3 separate regions of the Homo sapiens genome follow, and all the other regions are linked to region 1. The links are contacts of gene promoters, found by promoter capture Hi-C in blood cells and fetal thymus (Javierre and others, 2016). All regions are on one chromosome and are shown on one strand. The core of a region is centred on a gene start or on the middle of the fragment in contact, and the rest is flanking DNA. Distances in the headings are between cores, read along the strand shown. Region 1 holds the start of SNHG5 (small nucleolar RNA host gene 5). Region 2 overlaps RNGTT (RNA guanylyltransferase and 5'-phosphatase). Region 3 overlaps RNGTT (RNA guanylyltransferase and 5'-phosphatase).

Evidence for each region. The method cuts DNA at HindIII sites, captures the fragments that hold promoters and counts their contacts. A CHiCAGO score of 5 or more calls a contact.
Region 2: a contact is called between a fragment that was not itself captured here and the fragment with the promoter of SNHG5 in region 1, in 1 of 17 cell types (monocytes). The highest score is 8.1, in monocytes.
Region 3: a contact is called between a fragment that was not itself captured here and the fragment with the promoter of SNHG5 in region 1, in 1 of 17 cell types (non-activated CD4 T cells). The highest score is 7.3, in non-activated CD4 T cells.

Annotation. Positions count from the first base shown.
Region 1 is chr6:85,677,050-85,680,232 of GRCh38, reverse strand. It overlaps SNHG5 (small nucleolar RNA host gene 5), which reads left to right and starts at 1,500. Exons shown (of 6, transcript NR_003038.2): 1 at 1,500-1,539; 2 at 2,045-2,097; 3 at 2,201-2,279; 4 at 2,358-2,438; 5 at 2,741-2,809; 6 at 3,042-3,183. SNORD50B (small nucleolar RNA, C/D box 50B) reads left to right here and starts at 2,574; the gene lies at 2,574-2,644. SNORD50A (small nucleolar RNA, C/D box 50A) reads left to right here and starts at 2,865; the gene lies at 2,865-2,939. RefSeq lists enhancers at 1,530-1,689, 1,860-1,919. The HindIII fragment of the contact is 13,479 bases long and covers 1-1,657 here.
Region 2 is chr6:88,918,684-88,921,732 of GRCh38, reverse strand. All of the region lies in intron 4 of RNGTT (RNA guanylyltransferase and 5'-phosphatase), which reads left to right. Among named protein-coding and RNA genes, the nearest start is that of RNGTT, 43 kb to the left of the region's middle. The HindIII fragment of the contact is 1,920 bases long and covers 649-2,568 here.
Region 3 is chr6:88,957,506-88,960,304 of GRCh38, reverse strand. All of the region lies in intron 1 of RNGTT (RNA guanylyltransferase and 5'-phosphatase), which reads left to right. Among named protein-coding and RNA genes, the nearest start is that of RNGTT, 4.7 kb to the left of the region's middle. The HindIII fragment of the contact is 1,322 bases long and covers 594-1,915 here.

The DNA of each region.
Region 1 (3,183 bases), core at 251-2,750:
GGTCTTGGGCTCAATCCTCCCACCTCAGCCTCCAAAAGTGCTCTAATTACAGACATAAGCCACCACACCCGGCCTACTTTGCTTCTTATATCCTTTTGTACTGTATTGTTTGTTTTACTATTTACTATGAGCAATATGCAAATTTATGTAAGACATTACAAAGTAATACAAAAACCGACAAAATGCCCGGCCCAGTCAATACTTCATCATATAGGTTCCTGTTAGAGAAAAGTGCTTTTCACTACTATCTTTGAATGTGAAGTTTGATCTTCATTCTAATTTTCTAAAAAGCCACCGAATGTATTTGTTCATTCATTCATTCATTTAACCATTACCGACAACCTACTTAATGCTAGGCACTGTTCTAAGAAAAAATAAACAGCAGAGCACGAAATCAGATGTGTTGCTCCCACACTCTAGCAGAATCGGACCGTAATCAAATGCACACATAAACAACTTTAATAAGTAGTGCTTTGAAATATAGAAGTGAAGAACGACCTGAATTTTCAAATACTGAAATGTTCAAATGTCGTGTGCACACACACACACGCAGACATATTCACTCGAACATGCTAATTAATCAAAGCACTGCTTTTGAATTTTGTGTTTGTCGTCTGGATAAAGTATTCAGGGATACTTCTCAAATTAATCTTTCTCTCGTTTTCAATATAACTAATTGAGTACAAAGAAGTTAAAAATTAGCAAAGCATTTCAGCTGTGTGACCTTAGGCAAATTACCTGGCTGTTTTAAGCCTCAGTTTTCTCCTCTGCGAAATGGAGTATTGAACCTCACGTTCGCTGTTTGAGGGAGACTTGTATGGTCACGTTTAGTGTAACCGGATGCCTGGCACGAGGAAGCGTGAGGAGGAATGGATCCCCATGGGGCCTTGATGCCCGCCCTGAGGCCCTGCAGGGCCGCACGCCGGGGCTGTTCTCACGTGGCGCTTTCCGCTTTTTCACCCAAGCGTTTCTGCCAGCCAACTGCCCTTTCCCGGAGTGCTGCGGCCAGGGCTCGCCCGCTCCTCCGGCGGCCTCCGCTGGGGGCCCACTACAGCCCAGCGCCAGCCAGCCAGCCAGCCCAGCTTCTCGAATCGGTCCTAAGCTGAGGCCGCCCTGCGCTGCAAAACTTGTGTCCACTCTCGGACCCAATCTGTCCTGGACGGACTTGGCTCGTGGCAGGCGAAAGCGTCGTTTCCAACTGCAGCTGTTTGAATTCTGGCGCCACACCCGCGCCACGTAGGGCCAAGTCGGCCGCCAGACTCGTAAGAGACGCTTCGCAGTGCGCCTGCGGGCGCGCGCCGGGAAATGGCCGGGCGCGCGGCCGGCCTGCGGCGCGCTCCACAACGCGGAACGGGCCTCAGAAGAGCCACCGCGCGCGCTCCCGCTAATTCGCGACCACACCCCTGTCTACTTCCATGTCCAATAGGTGCGAGAGGGCGGGACGGCCTCGTTCTGACTCCGGGAGGCTATATAAGGAGCTACTGGCTGCGCACTTCGGTCTTTTACGTCGGCCTTCGCGAGCGTCTGGGCGGGTGGTAGGTGAGTGGGTATTGCGGGCTAGTATCCGAGCAAAAGATGGTGGCGCAGGCCGAGTTAAGAGCTTTAATCCTGTGAAGACATCTTAGTGAAGAGTTTAGAGTGCTGAGAGTTGAAAGCTTGCACGTGGGAAACGTGCGGCCGGACTGCCACATGTACTGAGGTTGAGTCGTGACGGCCACAGGCTCCGAGTTTTGGCGTGAGGAACCGCTGATCGGCCACGGGCGCCGAACTTGCTGGCCTCCGGCATGTGCCTGAGCGGCGGCGGAAAAACCACCTTAATTGGGGCGGAGGGTTAGTTTTAACAGCAAAGGGCCTTTACTAAAATGGCGAAGGCCTTCCGTCGGCGTTGTTTTAAAATGGGAAGCCTCGACCCTGTATTGAAACTGAGCTGTTCGAAGGCGGCGTTGTGTGCAATTCGGATTAATGAAGGGGAAGGGTTTTGTGTGGAAAAACGCCTTGGAGTGTGACATTTCTGCGAGAATGCTTAAATACCGATTTCCCGCAGGAACAATGGCGCTGTCTTCAGTGGCACAGTGGAGCAGCTCTGAAGATGCAAAGGTAAGAGCTTAGTTAAGCTTAGTTTCCAAACTAAAGGAGTAAACCTGTTGATTTACAGGAATAGGAACTGTTGCATCGTTTGAAATTTACTTTTTTTTGTTAGATACACGAAAAAACTTCCAGAACATCTGGGAGAATATTTAATGGAAAATCGCTTGGTTAAAACCTGACACTTTTAACAGGTATGTGTTGTTTTAGTACTTTATGATTGAGCATAGCATTTAATCCACACCTAGACTAAATCAAATTTTTTTTGTCAGTGAACAGCGTTCTGAGTGTGGACGAGTAGCCAGTGAAGATAATGAATGTCGAATGTGACTGACTAGCAGCTTCATTTTGAAGTAGGTTGTATGGCTTAAAAGTTCTGTAGTATTTGTACTATAATACTTGCCTTTTAGCATTACCTTGGTTTGTAGTCAGTGTCACAGAAGTGCAGTTTAATGTATTATGTGTACATATACAAGGTCTGATTGGTCTAATCAATGATGAAACCTATCCCGAAGCTGATAACCTGAAGAAAAATAAGTACGGATTCGGCTTCTGAGATTAAGACCAGTAATTCAGAGGTGGAGTAAATTTTGTTGCCGTGATTTTATAACAGTTGTGTTATAAAATCCTGGGTTTTTTTTTTTTCTGCCAACAGTGAGGGTCGCTGTCTGCCCATTGATAGAGGCCAGATTGTCTTGGAAGTTCCAAAGTTGCAACGATTTCTGTAAGTGGAGTTTTTCTGTTTGCTTAGAGATCAGTGAATATTGTGTCCTTGGTCTTATCTGTGATGATCTTATCCCGAACCTGAACTTCTGTTGAAAAAAAAAAACTTTTACGGATCTGGCTTCTGAGATGGACCGTTATAAGGACAATATTTTTTTTTAATACTTTTAATGCTTTTACATATGTTGTAATGTTTGTAGTCTTGTAAGAATCTCGTGTTTTTCCTTTTCTAGGGCTAGTGCCACGAGGTTTACTTGACTGTTGTGTGAAAAGCTGATAAGAAAACCATCCAGAAAAAAGCTCTTCGTTTTACAAACATGAAAATAAAACATGTAATTTTGGATTATGTTCCTTTTTGTTATTACTTTTAAATAG
Region 2 (3,049 bases), core at 359-2,858, 3.2 Mb before region 1:
TATTATTAAGGGTGGAGGATGAAAAAAAATCAGCAAAATGATAATTACCAAAGAGGGATGATGGATACATGAGGTTTCATTTTTCTATTCTCACTGCTTTGGGTATGTCTGCAAATTTCCATAATAAAAAAAAAATTTGAGAGTACTGCCCCAGAGAAGCTAACAGTATGGTAAAAATTGAAAACATCTGGTTCTAAGGGTTTCAGATAAGGGACTATGAAGCTGTAGTTACTGCTAAGGATTAGAAAAGGTTTCAAGCTTCTGTGTGTTTCAAGAACTTTATATTTCCATGAAGCCTACAGCATTAGCCCACAGCCTCACCAATTATCAACTGATAACTGAATCAGTTGTCAACTGTAATTGATAAATTAACAATTATATCAGCTAATTCAAAGATTACTTTTTTTTTTTTTAAAGACCAGGTCTCACTATGTCACCCAGGCTGGGATTTTTTTTTAAAACCAAGACAGCTTTGAAAAGAAACCTGAGTCTAACCTTTGCCACATCACAAATGTTTACTACTGGTCACAAATATTGATCAGCAAGAGTTTGTGCAAGGCTGATAAAAATTCCTTCTCTGAAACTAAAAATAAATGAAAGTACTATAAAAGCAGGACAGTATTTTCAGATCCTAAGACTACTTAAGCTTGATTCTTTAGTGCTTTTTATTTAGAAAGGTGTTATCAGCAATCAGTTCTGAGACTAGTTTCTGTTATTGTCTCTACAGTAATACTATAAGAAATAACTGGCAATACATCCTGTGCTCCAAAATTTGGCAGGCCCAAAGCAAATGTTTCCAATTCAATCCACATGAACAGAATCACTGCCGGGAATATAAAACAAAATATATATATATCACTAGGTTCTATAAATTTTATAACCTGTAAACACTCAAAACAATTAGAAGTTTTTCTTATCAGTTCTTCTAAGAATACAACTGCACAATTTATAACAAGGATGAATTTGTTTTCCTAAACCTGGAGTATGAATCTTTCTAAAATCATGACATCTAATGCCAGAGGTTAAAATTGCTTGACTGCCCTCCTTTGAATTCATTAAGCATATTTAATGTTTACCCCTATAATGGCTTCTCTCAAATGAGAAAACACTTCTGTGAGTTGTTTTTACTTATTCAGATAAAGGCCTCAGTATTACCTTAAGCTGTGTAGGTTCTAGTCATATACCTCAATATATGTGTATGTATGTGTGACTGTTATATATATTCATATAAATGTATGAATATATATACACACATCCTTAACATATTTCATGTATATCTCATAATATTGTTCTGTTAAATAATAGCTGCATACTGTACCATATAAATAACCTGCTTTTTTCAAAACAACAAATACAGTATAGTAACTGTTCACATAGCACTTACATTGCATTAGGTATTATAAGTAATACCTAGAGGTGATTCAAAGAAAACGGCAGGATGTTCATAGGTCATATGCAAATACTATGCCATTTTATACAAGGCACTTGAGCACTGAGCATCGGAGGATTTTGGTATCTGAGGGGGATCCCAGAACCAATCCCCTGAGGAGTCTGAGGAACAACTGCATTAATTTTTTTTGCCTTTATTGTATTATATTAAATAATTTTTTAGAGACCAGGTCTGGCTATGTTGTTCAGGCTGGACTTCAACTTCATCCCACAAATTGTAACAATTAAAATTGTCTCTAGACATTACAAAATGTCCCCTGGGGGGCAAAATCTTCCCCAGTTGAGAACTACTGAATCCTCGGTGCAGTGGCTCACGCCTGTAATCCCAACACTTTGGGAGGCCGAGGCGGGTGGATCACCTGAGGTCAGAGTTTGAGACCAGCCTGACCACCATGGTGAAACCCTGTCTCTACTAAAAATACAAAATTAGCCAGGCGTGGTGGCGCATGCCTGTAATCCCAGGTACTCAGGAGGCTGAGGTAGAGGTTGTAGTGAGCCGAGATTGCTCCATTGCACTCCAGCCTGGGCAAAAAGAACAAAACTCCGTCTCAAAAAAAAAAAAAAAAAAAAAAAAAAGAACTACTGACCTAATTAGACTGATCAAATAATTAGGATTTTTAGCATTAAAAAATTTATCTAGCTAGTGAGATAGAAATAAAATTGTGGGCCAGGTGTGGTGGCTCATGCCTACAATCCCAGAAGACCAAGGCCAAGGATCTCTTGAGCCCAGGAGTTCAAGACCAGCCTTGGCAACATAGAGAGACCCTGTCTATACCCCCCACACCCTCCAAAATAGTGTATGTTGAGATCAGGCTTTATTTAAAAAGATACATTGTCACCAGCCCCTTTATAAACTGCCCCAACATGTATAGCTATAGCTAATCTCTCTGTCTATTTGTTGGGGAGTTTCTTTCCCTAGTTTGATTGTAAATGCCATATACATTTATTTCATTATATTAGCTTGCCTGGAAAAATTTGAATAGAAGTTGCCTTGAAATAGTTAATTGTGAGCTAATATTTAGTTAAAAACTGTGGCTTACTTACCACTAGATGGACCCATTCTCATGATGAAGAAAACTGAAAATTGCTTTAAACAAAAACTGAAGACGTATCTAAGCTTGTAGTATACCTAATTAATGGATTTTTTAATATCAAATACATAATCTCCCACATTTTTCTATAGTGGTTTGTTTTGATGGTTTTGTAACTTTATAACCCTATCTATAAATGTTTTGATGTATAACTGAACCATTAGACTAAGACTTTTTGTATTTGCATATAAAGAATATTAAAAGGAAAATGGTACTTTCCTAGATTACATATCTTCACATGACATATTAGCTAATTGGCAATTATTATTACATTTCCTATTCATAAAAATATTTAATCTTGCAAGAGTAAAAATTGGATACAAAAACAGTAGCTTAGGTGAGAAACATCGAAAGTTGAAATATTTGTTGCTTGAATTGGTCTGAAATAGAAGATAGTAAGGAAATTTACATGTTGGGTTAAGATACATGAATACAAAAATGTGTTTATAGTGCACATCTTTGTGTGGCTTTTTTGAAGCACTTTTTCTTACAAAGCAATGGAGATAATG
Region 3 (2,799 bases), core at 5-2,504, 3.3 Mb before region 1:
TGTGATGGTGATAGTGATGGTGATTTTGAAGTCATTTTATTTAGCAAATATTTAAATGTCTACTTTGTGCTAGTCCTGGGTGCTAGGGAGATGGCTAAGATATATTACCCTTAAAAAGCAGAGTCTCATGGGAGTAGCAAACCATCCATTTTAAGCACAGTTCTGTTGTAAAAAATGTAGCAATGACTCTATTGTGGTATATGATGGGAATCAGAGGTAATAAACCTAATTCTTTGAGGTTGAGGAAGAAGAGATGGGAAGGAAGAAGGAGATCAGGTGAGACTTCCCAGAGAAGGTCATACATGAATTATCTTCAGTAAATAGAAGTTTTCTAGATAAATAGTTGGCAGGGGGTGTTATTGAAAGTTTCTGTTAGGATAGGATGATGATGGGAGAGATAATAGACTGAAAAAGTGTCTTTGTTCTGGAAGATGTAAGTGAGGTTAAGAGGTTGGAGAATAGCCTGATCATACAGGCAAGTAGGGTGTGATAAGGTATCCTAATATTTATATGCTTTAAATTTTCAGTGGCATACAATTGCAGTTTTTTTTTTCAGCATCGAGATGAGATTATTTGAATCCAAGTTAAAAGCTTACTTTGACTTTTCTGTGTTTAATGAATTGATGGAGAAAAGAGTGGAAATGGAGAGACTAATTAGGAACTTGTTGTAGTCCAGGTGAAAGACAATAGTGATAGTTTAAAAGTGACAGATGAAGAGTAGAAGGCTAATTTGAGAGATATTAAGAAGGGAAAATGGACAGAACTTGATGTCGTATTTAGAATGAGGGAAAGAGGGTCAAAATTTAGTCTCAAATGTCTGGCTTATGCACATGAGATAGTTGATATTATTAGGGCTTACTGAGAGAGAAGCAGGTTGGAGGAGATATTAAGATCCTGATTGCTCAAATAGAGATCTTTAGTAAAGATCTTTTTAAAAAACATTTTTATGTTATTTCAGTAGTTTTTGGGGGACAGGTGGTTTTTGGTTACATGGATAAGTACTTCAGTGATGATTTCTGAGATTTTGGTGCACCTGTCACTCAAGGAGTGTACACTGTAGTAGTCTTTTATCCCTCATCCCCCCTCTCCACACTTCCCCCTGAGTACCCAAAGTCCATTATATCATTGTTATGTCTTTGCATTCTCATAGCTTAGCTCCCACTTACAAGTGAGAACACAGGATATTTGGGTTTCCATTCCTGAGTTACTTCACTTAGAATGATGGGGTCCAACTCCATCTAGGTTGCCATGAATGCCATTATTTCATTCCTTTTTATGGCTGAGTAGTATTCCATGGTATATATACATATCACATTTTCTTTATCCACTCATTGGTTCTTGGGCATTTAAGCTGGTTCCACATTTTTGCAATTGCAAATTGTGCTGCTGTAAACATGCCTGTGCAAGTGGCTTTTTCAGATAATGACTTATTTTCTTCTGGGTAGATACCCAGTAGTGGGATTGCTGGATCAAATGGTAGTTCTTCTAGTTCTTCAAGGAATCACCATACTGTTTTCCCTAGTGGTTGTAATAATTTACATTCCCACCAGCAGTGTAAAAGTGTTACCTTTTCCCCACATTCATGCCAACATCTAATATTTTTTGATATTTTAATTATGGCCATTCTTGCAGGAGTAAGGTGGTATCTCATTGTAGTTTTAATTTGCATTTCCTTGATAGTGATGTTGAACATTTTTCATATGCTTCTTGGCCAACTGTATATCTTCTTTTGTCTGTTCATGTCCTTTGTCCACTTTTTGATGGGATTATTTGTTTTTTTCTTGCTCATTTGTTTCAGTTCCTTGTAGATTCTGGATATTAGTTCTTTGTCAGATGCATAGTTTGCGAAGATTTTCTCCCACTCTGTGGGTTGTCTGTTTACTCTGCTGATTATTTCTTTTGCTGTGCAGAAGCTTTTTAGTTTAATTAGGTTCCATCTATTTATTTTTGTTTTTGTTGCATTTGCTTTTGGGTTCTTGGTCACGAACTCTGCCTAAGTCAATGTCTAGAAGAGTTTTTTCCAATGTTATCTTCTAGAATTTTTATGGTTTCAGATCTTACTTAAGTTTGAGTTGATCCATCTCCAGTTGACTTTGTATAAGGTGAGAGATGAGTTTCATTCTTCTACGCGTAGCTTGTTAGTTATCCCAGGACCATTTGTTGAATAGGGTGTCCTTTCCCCACTTTATGCTTTTGTTTGCTTTGTCAAAGATCAGTTGGCTGTAAGTGTTTGGCTTTCTTTCTGGGTTCTCTATTCTGTTCCATGGGTCTGTGTGCCTATTTTTATACCAGTACTATGCTGTTTTGGTTACTATAGTCTTGTAGTATAATTTGAAGTTGGGTAATGTGATGCCTTTACATTTGTTCTTTTTTGTTTGCTTACCTTGGCTATTTGGGCTCTTTTTTGGTTCAATGAATTTTAGGATTGCTTTTTCTGGTTCTGTGAAGAATGATGATGGTACTTTGATGGGAATTGCATTGAATCTAAAGATTGCTTTTGGCAGTATGATCATTTTCATAGTATTGATTATACCCATCTATGAGCATGGGATGTGTTTCCATTTGTTTGTGTCATCTGTGATTTATTTCAGTAGTGTTTTGTAGTTTTCCTTTTAGAGATCTTTCACCTCCTTGGTTAGGTATATTCCTAAGTATTCTATTGTTATTATTTTTTTTATGCAGCTGTTGTAAAAGGGATTGAGTTCTTGATTTGATTCTCAGCTTGGCCATTGTTGGTGCATAGCAGTGCTACTGATTTGTGTACGTTGATTTTGTATCCTGAAACTTTAAAGAATTCAT